Regions from separate parts of the Homo sapiens genome. Here regions 1, 2 and 4 are each linked to region 3. The links are contacts of gene promoters, found by promoter capture Hi-C in human tissues and cell types (Jung and others, 2019). All regions are on one chromosome and are shown on one strand. Each heading gives the region's core, a stretch centred on a gene start or on the middle of the fragment in contact. The rest is flanking DNA. Distances are from core to core; before and after follow the strand shown.

Region 1 (3,331 bases), core at 471-2,970, 730 kb after region 3:
AAAGTACACTTGTTATTAGTCTGCACGATATAATTCTTTTTGAAGGAAAGTAAGCTTACAAAAGCAGGGCAGTGTCTGTCCTGCTTTTGTTCCTGAGAACATGAGAAAAAAAATGAGAACATACACATTCTATCAAATGATCAGTATATGAAGCAAATTATATCCTGTTAACAGGCAAAACTGGTACCATAGAGATGGTGATGGGTCTGAAAGAACACACAAGATGTATTAGAACAGATATGTACTTTTAAAATGATCTCCTATATAACTGATTTCCTTTTATAAAAGGAATCACTGAGAACTGTTTCTGATCTTGTTCCTAATTTTATTTCTTCTAATGTGAAAATGCCTATCAGGCATTTCTTATTGAAAACTAAAATAATGTCCTTGCCAATCCCAGAAGAGGAGAAAGGAATAACTCCTGGGGAGAAAGAAGGGGGAAGAAGAAGGTGTGAAGAGTGTTGAAGTAAAGGAATGCTGTTTTGGCATCTCATCCATGTCGGTGACAGCAGGTGCCACAGAGGAAAAGACAACCAAATAAAGGGCAAGGAAACCAGGAGAGCAGACACAAAGGGGGAAACAGATCCCTCTGCCCTGTGCCTCATTAATCTTGTCAAAAATACTTGCTGCTGAGAAATGCTAATCTTCTCACTCCCCAGAGTAGCCTCCCTCACAAGAATGTTTTAAAGGCCTGGTATATCTAATGACTGAGCCATTTAATAAATTACTTACTTACGTTACTATAAAAGCTAGTCCAGCAGCTGTAACCTACATGTAAAGCACTAAATCCTTTTACCTGATTTCTAAAGGTTTCTCTAAATCATATTTAGTGACAGGGTGAGGTACACAGGAATCAGGATTTAGTGGCAGGGCATACCTCATGCTGTTTCGAGTAGGTCAGGAGGTCTGACTTGGATTTCTTCCCAGTAACCTGATCTAGGTGAATCAGCAGGTTATAAATGAAAGTCAGTTTCTAAGATCTCCTGACTTTCTTCAACTATCAGGAACTTTATAGGAACCTGGTGAGAAACAGGAAAAGACCAAGAGATAATAAATAACATTGACCAATATTATGGTATTGCAATTTCTCTTTCCTAATACAATGTAAAATGTAGTGCCATTTTTGGACAAGCTAATTATTTGTATAGATTCCTGAGTTTGTTATTTTTGTTAGCCTGAATAAATATCTAAATGATTGGAAAATGTTTAAGAGCTGAAAGCCTTTTCTAGGTCACAAAGTATAACATTAGATAGTGGTTCTTCCAAGGGCAGGTTCTAATACTTTCATATGTTTCTATCACTCATTATATGAAAATTCCTCATTTTAAACCCTCACTTTAAATCACAGGAAGGAAGACAAGTTAGAAAAGGAGAACAAAGGAAACAAAATGTATTGGAAGACTTGTCACATTCAAAGTATTGACATTCATTGCCTAGCTTCATTCTCACGGCAACTTTTGGACGAATTAAACTTCTGCTCAAAGACAGTCACAATAGCTATAATAAAATTAGTGTTTGATTCTAGCTTTGTCTAATTGCAAAGCCTGAACTGGAGGTAAATGTCTGGTGTAAGCAAACTTCCACTGCCCCTTAAACCATACCTCACTGATAATTGTCTCTTGTCCTACCCATAGCCTGGTTCTGCACCACTTTCTGCACCAATTTATGTCGTATTTCTAAAGGTTATTTTTCCCTTCTTTATTACTATTTTCAGTTAAAAGATTTCTCAGTTAGCATGGCTTAGTAAATCAAGAACTTACATCTGTACAATCTCAGAGAAACCCAAGGGCATCACAAGCACCACTAGTGACATGTTTCCTTCATTGTAAATGGGCAATAGCACTTGCTGTTTTTGAATGCCATGAACACATTGGGAATATTCAGCTACTTTGTGGGTCAATATAGAAAAATTATATTAAATATGAAGAAACGGTCCCAATTTTCTCATCATATTGAAATGCCAATAATTATAATAGCTCACAGATATGTTATGAGGATTGACAAAGTACCACATGGAAAGCGCAAAAGGCAGCTCACAGCTTAGGAAAAGTGTTAAGTCAATACTAGCTTTTATTAATGATGTTTTTATACTTATGAGTAAGATTATTGGGTTCCTATTCTCTAAGAGTTCACTAGCTCCAGAACCACACAGTAAAATGCTTCCTCTCTTTATGTCCCTTCCAATGTCAATTTCACTGCTTCTGTTCTATATTCCAGAAGTGTGATTGGTGATTAATGAAGTAAATATAAGAATAAGCTCTAGATGATAAGAAACTGGTTATATTTGCAAATACAGCCCTCAGTAACCTGTATACTTATAAATAACCTGAGATTTCTGCCCCCATATGTACCAAAACAGTAACTGAAATATAGTTTCTACACACTCACCTCCCAACCCTTTCTTATCCTGTAAAATAACTAAACAGGAGACTGTATGATCATAGCTGAATAATAAGGCTCTGCCTGTATCGGTTACCTTTTTCTGAAGGTCCTAAGGTCCTAATGTGTTTCAGGAATGTCTACCTTTGACCTTGCTAGTCCATACTCTGAAACGTCTAATTTTATTTTTATGCTTTTTGTGTACTAGGGTGAGGGCAGGCAGGTAAAGGTTAGGTTGTGTGATATTCAGAGGCTGGAAACTGAAACCCCCTGTTTCTCACAGCACAGATGTGGTGCAGACAGCCCGGGCCTCTACATTTCCTCGCTGTGCCCTAAAAATGACCTTAACCCTGACATAGAAAGAGAAGCAACATCACTGTGAAAGGCTGTTGCTGGCTGGCTGTGTGAGAGGGAGCAGTTTTCTGAGTGTGGGGCTGTGTCCCATTGGCCTCTCCTGTGTCATAACACTTCCAGTCTCTCCAAGTTGACCTGGATCCTCTGAAGCCAAAGAAAGGTCAAAGTTAATTCTTTGTGCCCATCAAACTCATTTTATGAGTTGTTTTTTTCCATGAACCAGTGGGAAAATGATTCAAATCAATACTTTCTCTTCAATCTTAAAATATATTGGAAATAATTGTTTTCTTTTGGGGTACTTTTCCCAAACAACCTCTGCCTTTCTACCTTTTGCTTTATTCTAATAAATAAATAAAAATATATGCATATATATGTATACATGTTCATATATACAAAATAATCAAACCAAAACAACAATCACCTCGACAAACTGTGTTTCCTTTGAATTGCTTATTTTTATATATTTCATATCTTAACAATTGTAAATCTAAATGATAATAAAAAATATATTTTTAGCTTCTTTAAAGATTTCAAATTCTTGTTTTTCTTCTCCATTTAAGACAGATGTTTATTTTTATATGATGTCTAGGTTTTATAA
Region 2 (3,454 bases), core at 472-2,971, 570 kb before region 3:
TTGATGAAACAGCAAAGTGTCGGAGCCAGTGCTTGCCTTCAAGTTTTGACCATTTCATGCTTTTGTTACACTTCACTTGCAGTGGTGAGAAATAATAATTTTATGTATGCACGTATGTAAAGAGGCACTAAAAATACAAAAGCACTAGATTTTTCAAAATCATCATGAAATGGAGAAGGATTTCCTAAAGATGACATAAAACCAAGAATCCAAAATGAAAAAAAAGACAAATCTGACTGGATAATAATATTAAAGTTCTATAACGTATAAAATAAATAAGAAATAAGAATATGAAAATCACAGAACAGATAGGAAATATTTAAGATGCATATGACAGATGGGGGCTAATTTTCTTAATATACAAAGAGCTATTATAAATCAAGAGCAACAAAAATGATTTAAAAATGAACAAAGAACACGAATAAGACATTAACAGAAAGAAATACAAGTATATAAAAGTAAGCTTGCTCTCTCTTACACAAGTTGAGCATTTCTGTTCTGAAAATCTGAATTCAAAATGCTCCAAAATCCAAGAATTTTTGAGCACTGACGTGACGCCAAAAGTGAAAAATTTTACACCTGATCTTCTATCATGGCTCACAGTCAAAACACAGTCAAAATTTTGTTTTCTGCACAAAATTATTTAAAATATTGTATAAAATTACCTTCAGGTTGTGTGTATAAGGTGTATATGAAACAGAAATCTCAGTTTTCTTTTCTGAATTTAACTAAGAGTAATACTCAGGTACTTGATATTTGTTTTAAAAACAAATGAATAAATGGGTTAAAAATTGGTAGCTTTGTCCTAAAAACAAAAACAAAAACAAAAACAAAACTCCTATACATAAATAAGACAGCACAGCCATGTTAGCCAGAGCTGTCCTTCACATCATGTTTTTAGTCACAGGTCTTCATAGAATTCTTACTCTTCTCATAAAGAATTTTCTGAGATTGCAAAATGTAAATAGCTTGGTCAGTGTATTAGTGCATTTTCATGCTGCTGATAAAGACATACCTGAGACTGAGCAATTTACAAAACAAAGAAGTTTAATTGGACTTACAGTTCCACGTGGCTGTGGAAGCCTCACAATCATGGCAGAAGGCATAAAGGAGCAAGTCATGTCTTACATGGATGGCAGCAGGCAAAAAGAGCTTGTGCAGGGCAACTTTCCTTTTTAAAACCATCATATCTTGTGAGACTTATTTGTTACCACAAGAAGAGCACAGGAAAAACCTGTTCCCATGATTCAATTACCTCCCACTGGCTTCCTCCAGTAACACGTGGGAATTTAAGATGAGATTTGGGTGGGGACACAGCCAAACCATATCAGTCAGTAACATTTATTCAAAGCCACAAATCATAGAGTAATCCAGGGCAGAAGAAAAGAAAATAGATATAAAGGTTGACCTCAAGGTTCTTAAGAGCCAACAGGATATCTAAACCTACTGTGAAACATATATGTTAATAGATAGAGATATAAGAATATATGTGCTACGTATAACAAGGTCAAGGTTTATGGAGTGAAGGACATGAGTGTTGTAGAGGGATAGGGAGGTTGTCAATGCAATAGAATGACCATAGGACCATATCTTCTGACTAAAGTGTGGTTCCTATTGGACCTCATGGTGTGCCCACATTTTTTGGCATCTCTCCTAGCTCCCTACCTCTTCGCTCCCGTTGCAATCACATTCATCCATACTTCCTGAGCTGCACATGTCTAGATTGAAACAAATGTTTCCATGTAGCAAACACACAGAATTCTCCCATAGGCAAAAAAGTACTGAGGTGTAATTAATGTCTTTTCAGACTATTGTCTGTATTTCCTTGAGCCCTCAGACTGATTGTCCTGTTCTAGTTCTAAGCCAAGGAGATCAGACTTAGATTAGGTTGAGTTTGTGTTCTTGGCTGCCAAGTACATCATTCTCCCTCATGTCTCTCTCTTTTTTTTTTTTTTTTTTTTTTTAGATGGAGTCTCGCTCTGTCGTCCAGGCTGGAGTGTGGTGGTGCAATCTCTGCTCACTGCAACCCCCACACCCCTGGTTCAAGTGATTCTCCTGCCTCAGCCTCCCAAGTAGCTGGGACTACAGGCGCATGCCACCATGCCCGGCTAATTTTTTGTATTTTTAGTAGAGACGGGGTTTCGCCATGTTAGCTGGGATGGTCTTGATCTCCTGACCTCGTGATCTGCCTGCCTCGGCCTCCCAAAGTGCTGGGATTACAGGTGTGAGCCACCACACTCAGCCCCTCATGTCCTTTCTATGAACCATCACATTTTTCTATGATGGGATATTCTGAGCAAATATGGCATTGTGGAGAAGAGACTATTTATTATAAGCACTGCATTTGGCTTTGTCCTACAGAAAAGAAATGACCAGAAGAATATAATAATTAGGTCAGAATGTCTTGTGATCAAAGTTGCATTATTGATACTTAGGACAACACCAAATCTTTGAACTAAGAAACTAGTTCATAGATTCAATGTCTATGACTAACTGTATTGCATCAACACCAATTAGTCATCTAACTTACTTTATTAAATGGGTCAGAAATGAAATATAAACAAAAGAAACATTTTTTAACTGTAAAACACCATGAAAACCACAAGTCAGCCTGTGATTCTCTTGGTAAACAAGGCAAAGACATTTTTTTCTTTTCTTTTTTAATATTTTGCCGGAGGGAATCCTAAGAGGTCATCTACTTCATTCTTTTTCTTTCAAGCAAGACCCATTCTAGCTATCTCTAAATAATAGAGAAGTCTTATCATATCTTATTCTTTTTTTATTAATTTATTTAGCTAAAAAGTTTTGGAGCATCTACTAAATGGCAGGCATGCTACTAGGATTGGAGCTAACAAGATAAAAAGAAAAGGAAAACATGATGTTTACCCATGAGGAAGTAGTTTAGTTAGGAAAGACTGGCTTGGGTACTTAAATTCCTTAAGCAAAATGGGGAAAGCAAGAGGATGCATAAGTTTGAGGGAGAAGAAAACATGTGGGTTTAATGGTATTGGGCTTGAGGCGCCCATGGAGGGGCCAGTAGGCTATGTGGGCCTGGAGAAGTTCTGATCTAAAAATACAGATATAGGAGTCACTTTCAACAGGGTTCTTAAAGCTGTGAGGATAGGAAAACCACATAAGAAGCCCACCTAGAATGAAAACCAGTCTTAGCAAAGGTGCTTCTTAGAAACCCAATTCAGCATTGTTATTATTCTGACAGTCCTGGTTACCTACCCATGTCTATCATCACTCTTTTAAGAATCATCCTCTCAGCCAGGCGCAGTGGCTCACACCTGATTTCCTAGCACTTTGGGAGATAGAGGCAGGCAGATCACCTGAGGTTAGGAGTTCGAGACCAGCCTGGCCAAAATGGCAAAACCCTGTCTCTACTGAAAATACAAAAATTAGCCGAGCATGGTGGTGTGCGCCTGCAATCCCAGCTACTCGGGAGGCTGAG
Region 3 (3,173 bases), core at 181-2,680:
CTCAAAGTACTTTTACCCCCTTTTCTGAAGTTTTGGGGTCAAGAGACAGCTATGCTTCTCAGAGTCACTTAGCACAAGTGAACTTGAGACATATTCCTAACAAAAACAGATCTCTTGCTAACAAAAATTCTCATGTGATTTTCTTAAGAAAAATGTCAAGTGCCACTTATTGGCCCCATTCAATATGCCAGATGTTATATTCAACACTTTATGAACATTATTCCACTTAATCCTTGTAACAATCCTTTGCAGGAGGCAGTGTGTTTTTCCATTTTTAAAAGAAAACTCAAGCTCGGAGAGGTTAAGAGCATATACATGGTAAATGGTGGAAGTGAGGTTTGAATCTAATATTGACACCACAGCCTATGTTCTTAATCACTACCACTGCGCATCAACTACGTTTCTGGCACATGCCGCTGGGGATATGCCAGATACATACTCTTTTGCACCTTGTACAATACCACAGAGAAATGCAAAATAAATAATTTTTAATAGGGCAAAGGGCTCGGTACTCTCAAAAGCAGAAATAGCCCAGAGGGAGGGCTTGAGCCCGTAATTCTAGCACTTTGGGAGACTAGGGTAGGAGTATCCCCTGAGACCAGGAGTTCAAGGTTACAGTGAGCTATGATTGCGCCACTGCACTCACCTGGGTGACAGAGCAAGATTGTCTTAAAAAAAAAAAGTCACATATATACATAGAATATGCAATTAAAATATATTTCATAAACTATCTGCTATGAAATCTGTGCCAGTGTGAGCTTTCTCCAAGTTTTAATTTATGGCTGGCTGTGGATTTAGTCCTGAGTCTAACAAATAACACAACCTAATAATTATTGCCTACTTTGAGGAAGATATTCTTTTGGTTTTTGTTAAGAATAGAGTGAACCATAAAAGATTATATCAGACCTCAAGAGTTTATTATAATTGGGTTATAAGGCATGTGCTCTCGAAAAGTTGTTACATAAATACGAAAAATATACTGTTAAATGACTGGCCCAACTAAATCAGTTCCCAAAGCTGTGCTGGTTAGACAAACCTACAAGGAAATGGTGAAATTTCCAAGGAAATGGTGAAATTTCAGTCCAATTTTGAAGAACAGGTTTTGAAGGGCTGTAGAGAAAGCTGGAAGCACACTCCAAGTGGAACGATAACTTGGAAATATACTGTCTTATTATCACAGGCTGCTCCTGAAAGCCACGCGTCCCCGCTCACCAGCTACCAGCGCTGGGAGACCCCTAACCACCAGGCATTCACAGGTGAGGAAGCCCCTCCCACAGCGGCCGGAGTTTCGGACTCGGAGCGCGAGAAACGTCGGGATAGCGCCTGCCTCGCAGAGCTTCCGCTTCCGGCCCTTCAGGCTCTGTCTCTGTGGAGACTGGGCTTTGGGAGGGAGAAAGAGGGACCTAGCGCGGGCCGCGCAGGCGCACGGTGGGCAGCTGCAATGGCGCTGTCGTGTACCCTTAACAGGTATCTGCTCCTCATGGCGCAGGAGCATCTGGAGTTCCGCCTGCCGGTGAGTCCGTAGCGCCCTCCGGAACTTCCGACGGAAGAGGACGCTGGAGTGGAGTGGAGTGGGTGGAGGTGATCTGCATAGCCCGAGGAAGCTGGGATTCGGGGGTCTTCGCTGGTCTGCGCGGGTCACGCGTCCCCAGTCCTCGGGCGGGGTGAGCTTGGCGGAGGGTGTGTGTGAGAGAAGTCCGAGACCAAACCCCTCGGCCTGCTTAAACTTTTCATTCTTTTGCCCGTGTATCAAGTACCGGAGTTAGGCAGGTGAATATGACCGGTCATCTCACTCCCGGAGCTCTTCGTCTAGCGGAGAATAGAGACAGCTAACAAATGCTCAGGCTGGTGTTTGAAGTATTGGAATCTGCGGATCAAGCTCAGTGGAGGGGATGGTGGTGGGGATTAGATGATGGAGAAGTTGAGAAGAGTGTTTTATTTATTCAAGAAACGTTTTCAGAATGCATGTAGTCGAAGATCGGTACGCTGGGCATGTAACGATGATGTAAGCAATCTCTGCCCTCTAGGAGCTTACTGTTTAGAGTAAGGGCTGAGCAGACACATAGGCGTAGAATGACAAAAGAGCGTCGGTAAGTGCAGTGATAGATGCACATGGAAATATGAGAGCACGTGGAAGGGAAATCTAATCTACCTGAGGGGTTGGGGATGTTGGCCTTTAAGAGGGCTTCCAGAGGAGATGACACTTGAAATAAAGGATGAATAGGAGTTAGAGGGCCAAGGAGATAAATCAGTAAATTAGAATTACAAGGTGTTCATTATTACTGGATCACTAGTTATGTGGCAGAGTGGTAAGAAGAGAGCAAGGGAAGTAGATCGAGGCCAGAAAATGAAAACCTTGAGTACCCTGGAGCTTGGAAGGGGGATTTATTGAAAAGCCTTAAGTAAAAAAGTGACCACAAAATTAAATCAGTTTGACAACACTATGGAGGATGGATTTGAAAAGAATAAGACTTGAGCCAGAGACTAGGAGTCTGTGGGAATAGTCTTGTTAATAGATTAAGAAGGTCTGACCTAGGGCAAGGAGTAAGAGGATGGGATAGACTGGGAAAATATTTAGGCCATACAGTCATTAAGGCTGGATTGATTGAATATGTGGGAAAGGGGCACCAGTCAGGTATGACTCCTGGGGTGTATATAGGTAGGAGTGTCTCCATTTAAAATAGAGAACATAGGCAGATGTAAGATTTAAATTTTGTTTACACTGAATTTGATGTGGTTGTGTAACATCAACCTGAGATGACCAAGAGGCGGTGGATATATGAATATGCATAGAGTATGGCAGAGTGATCTGGACTAGTGATAAATATTTGGGAGTCTTCTTCATATGAAAACTAGGAGCGGGGAAGAAATTACTCAAAGGATAAGGTCAAAAGAGTAGCGGGCCAAGTATAGATGCTTGGAAGCATTGATATTAAGGGAAAGTCGGAGGAGGCCATGAAGAAGATGGGCAAGTGCCAGAAGGATGTGAGACCGCAGAAATCAGAAGGGTAAAGTTTTAGGAAGCAGGGACAAATGGATAAATGTCGAATGCAGTTGCTTTTTAGTGAGAAAAGAATGAAAAAGTGTCATTGATAGTCTCAATTAGAAGATAATTAATTGGTGATTTTTGCTAAAGCGAATATGTTGAGTTTTAGTAGGAGAAGCCAGGTGGC
Region 4 (3,324 bases), core at 275-2,774, 810 kb after region 3:
AAGATTCTAGTGAATTGATAGGGGAAGAGAAATCAAGGCTTTTGACTTGCTTTAATTTTAGGCCATCTAAACCAATTTAGCCTACTTAAAAGGAATTTCCTCTGCTTATATCCTGGCTTTTGAAAGTTCTCACTAAAACCTGGGTTAAACCCCTTATTTGGCATTATTCTCTGCATTCATCTCTCTTTCAGGGACTTAGTGGGGAAGAACAACGAGATCAGCATGCTTGCCATTCTCTAATTCTTTTTCCATAAGCATCAACTGGCACCCCATTTTGACAAATACTACATCTTATGACAGCCAGCTCCAACGTCACTATGGCATAAGAAAGTAAAAACACTGGGGAAAAAAAGAAAATTATAAATTAACAGAAAGATGATGAATTTCAATTGTTCCATTCATTCTTCATGTATTTGTTCATGTCTATATTGAATAAATATTTTTTGAGTCCTTACCCTGTAGGAGGCACCATGCTAAGCTCTGACTATAGAGGACTGCACAGGACCAACACGGTCCCTGCAGTTATGGAGCTTACATTGTAGAAGGGGAGGCAGATAGTCAGGTAATTTTAAATTAGGATATTTATGCTCTCTAATTAATATCCCATTAGCCTGACTTAAAAGAGTAGGAAATAATCATGAATAGAAGGATGTTATGAAGGGTAAAGAAGAACACAATCAAGGGAAACAACAGGGACAATAGCCTTCCAGTGAAAAGGAGCAGAAAGAAGACCTAAGAACCTGGTGTGAGGAGAGCAAGGGAAGAGAGGCCCATGTTGAAGCAAGAGCCAAATGTGACAATGCATGTCCATGCGGGCTGTTGGGTGTGTAGGGATTTGTGTTTTATCCGAAGAGCCACTGGAAGTCATTCCAATAAACCTTAAAAATATTGTTTTGGTAATACATATTACTGGAAGTAGAAATAAAATGGGATAGTTTAAGATGTGTCTCAAAATGTCAGATATAGGTTATGGTGGTCATAGTATGAAAAGATAACAATATGGCCAGGCGCAGTGGCTCACGCCTGTAATCCCAGCACTTTGGGAGGCCGAGGCGGGTGGATCACGAGGTCAGGAGTTGGAGACCTGCCTGACCAACATGGTGAAACCCCATTTCTACTAAAAATACAAAAATTAGCCGGGCTTGGTGGTGGGCGCCTGTAATCCCAGTTACTCAGGAGGCTGAGGCAGGAGAATCTCTTGAACCCGGGAGGCGGAGATTGCAGTGAGACGAGATAGCACCACTGCTCTCCAGCCTGGGCAACACAGTGAGACTCTGTCCCCCCAAAAAAAAAGAAAAGAAAAGAAAAGAAAAGAAAAGATAACAATACTTTTTATGAAAAGGAACTTCAAGTAGATTAAAATATATTTACTCTAAAGTTTAATATGCCATAAAATGCAAAAGATTCTTTTATCTTTCACTGTTTCGAAAGGGAAGGTGGTTTAGTGTCACAAGGCCCTCTGAAACTGAAGTGACTAATAAATTGTGGGGATTAATTACTCACTGGAAAGAAAATGTGGAAAATGCAAACTTCATTGGCTTCATATCAAAGCCACATTTCAACAACACATGGATAAACAATGGATAATGAAAATCTTTTATATAACTCCTTTTCTCTTCTACATTATATAATAATTTTCTACCGACTATACCTTAACTTTTAACCTTGATTTTACCACTAATATACACAAACATTTATCTGCACTTTTTTCTTTTTAGATAACTTTTTTAGAGGAAGCAGTTTTCAGTTATATCGAGACAGCATATTAAAATTCTTTTTGCAAATTTCTATCATAATTTGCATATTCAATAAAAATCTAAGCAGTAAATCTATTCCAATTTTTTCCCCATTCTCTGTGAACAAGAATGTTTTCTCATTGTCTTAGCTGTTGTTTTTTAATTTGGGCCATCTTTATGATGAATACCAAATAATGAATAATTGCTTCCATAGACGTTTCCATTATCTCAAGAATTCTGAGAGCTTGAGATAATTTCCCAGCCAAGAATATTGGGGTGTGAACCCTGAATATCAGAGACAGGTCGCAGTTAATTTAGGAAGTTTATTTTGCCACGGTTGAGGACACACACCCATGACACAGCCTCAGGAGGTCCTGACAACATGTGCCCAAGGTGGTCAGAGCAGTTTAATGTTATACATTTTAGGGAGAAGTGAGACATCCATAACATATGTAGGATGAACATGGGTTTGGTCTGGAAAGGCGAGGCAGGGGCTTCCAGGTCATAGGTAGATAAGAGACAAATGGTTGCATTCTTTTGAGTTTATGATTAGCCTTTCCAAAGGAGACAATGTGATATGCGTTTATCTCAGTGAGCAGAGGGGTAACTTTGAATAGAATGGAAGGCAGTTTTGCCGTAAGCAATTCCCAACTTGACTTTTTCCTTTAGTTTAGTGATTTGGGGCCCCAAGATTTATTTTCCTTTGTCTGAGGTTACTTGGCCAGAAGGTAGGAATGGCAAAATCAAGGCAGAAATTGAGTGAATGAAAAGTCAGCAAAGAAAAGCAGAGCTTATAGAAACCAGTAGATAGAGAGAAAAGTAGATGGCAAAAGTTAAAAGCAGGTGGTAAAATATAAGGCATAAAATTATCATTAAGGAGATAGTCAGAATCACAGAAACACAATGCCAGAAACAAAAGGGTCTTAAAAAGAACTTGATGCTGGCAACAAAAGCAAATGTAAACAAGAGGAACTATATCAAATAAAAGGCTTCTTCACAACAAGGGAAATAATCAACAAAATCAAAAGGCAACCTATAGAATGGAAGAAAATATGTGCAAACCATGTGTCTGATAAAGGGTTAATAACCAAAGTATATAAGAAACTCACCCAGCTCAAGCGCAAAAAAAATACAACCTAATCTAAAAATGGGCAAAAGACCTTAATAGACATGTTTCCAAAGAAGACATACAAATGGCCAACAAGTATATAAAAAGGTACTCAGTATTACTAATTTTCAGGGAAGGGGAGTTAAAAACCACAATCAGATATATCACCTCATCCTGTTACTAAAAAGACAAGAGATAAATGTTGGTGAGGATGTAGAAAAAAGGCACCCCTTGTGCACTGTTGGTGGGAATGTAAATTAGTACAGCCATTATGGAAAACAATATGAAGGTTTCTCAAAAAATTAAAATAGAATTACCATACAATCCAGCTATCTCACTTTTGGGTATATATCTAAAGAAAATGAAATCAGTATCCCAAAGAAAAATCTGCACTCCCACACTCATTGCAGCATTATTCACAGTAGCTAAGACATGGAAACCAGAAACTACCTGTATACATTGACAAATGAATTGATCAAG

The links. Contacts are between HindIII fragments. The study calls those that stand out against the background at their distance.
Region 1: a fragment that was not itself captured here is called in contact with the fragment with the promoter of TRMT11 in region 3 in 1 of the 25 tissues and cell types used here (lymphoblastoid cells).
Region 2: a fragment that was not itself captured here is called in contact with the fragment with the promoter of TRMT11 in region 3 in 1 of the 25 tissues and cell types used here (thymus).
Region 4: a contact is called between a fragment that was not itself captured here and the fragment with the promoter of TRMT11 in region 3, in 1 of the 25 tissues and cell types used here (mesenchymal stem cells).

The regions. Positions count from the first base shown.
Region 1 is chr6:126,716,456-126,719,786 of GRCh38, forward strand. All of the region lies in intron 3 of LOC105377992 (a long non-coding RNA gene), which reads left to right. It overlaps LOC105377993 (a long non-coding RNA gene), which reads right to left and starts at 955. Exons shown (of 3, transcript XR_001743837.2): 1 at 878-955. RefSeq lists enhancers at 2,401-2,480, 2,491-2,630 and a silencer at 2,711-2,820. The HindIII fragment of the contact is 7,584 bases long and covers 1-3,331 here.
Region 2 is chr6:125,413,577-125,417,030 of GRCh38, forward strand. All of the region lies in intron 1 of LOC102723341 (a long non-coding RNA gene), which reads right to left. Among named protein-coding and RNA genes, the nearest start is that of HDDC2, 110 kb to the left of the region's middle. The HindIII fragment of the contact is 8,096 bases long and covers 1-3,454 here.
Region 3 is chr6:125,985,110-125,988,282 of GRCh38, forward strand. TRMT11 (tRNA methyltransferase 11) reads left to right here and starts at 1,431. Exons shown (of 13, transcript NM_001031712.3): 1 at 1,431-1,513. The coding sequence starts at 1,442. RefSeq lists enhancers at 654-1,484, 1,462-1,951, 1,485-2,314. The HindIII fragment of the contact is 9,309 bases long and covers 1-3,173 here.
Region 4 is chr6:126,796,688-126,800,011 of GRCh38, forward strand. No RefSeq gene overlaps it. Among named protein-coding and RNA genes, the nearest start is that of MIR588, 310 kb to the left of the region's middle. The HindIII fragment of the contact is 6,690 bases long and covers 1-3,324 here.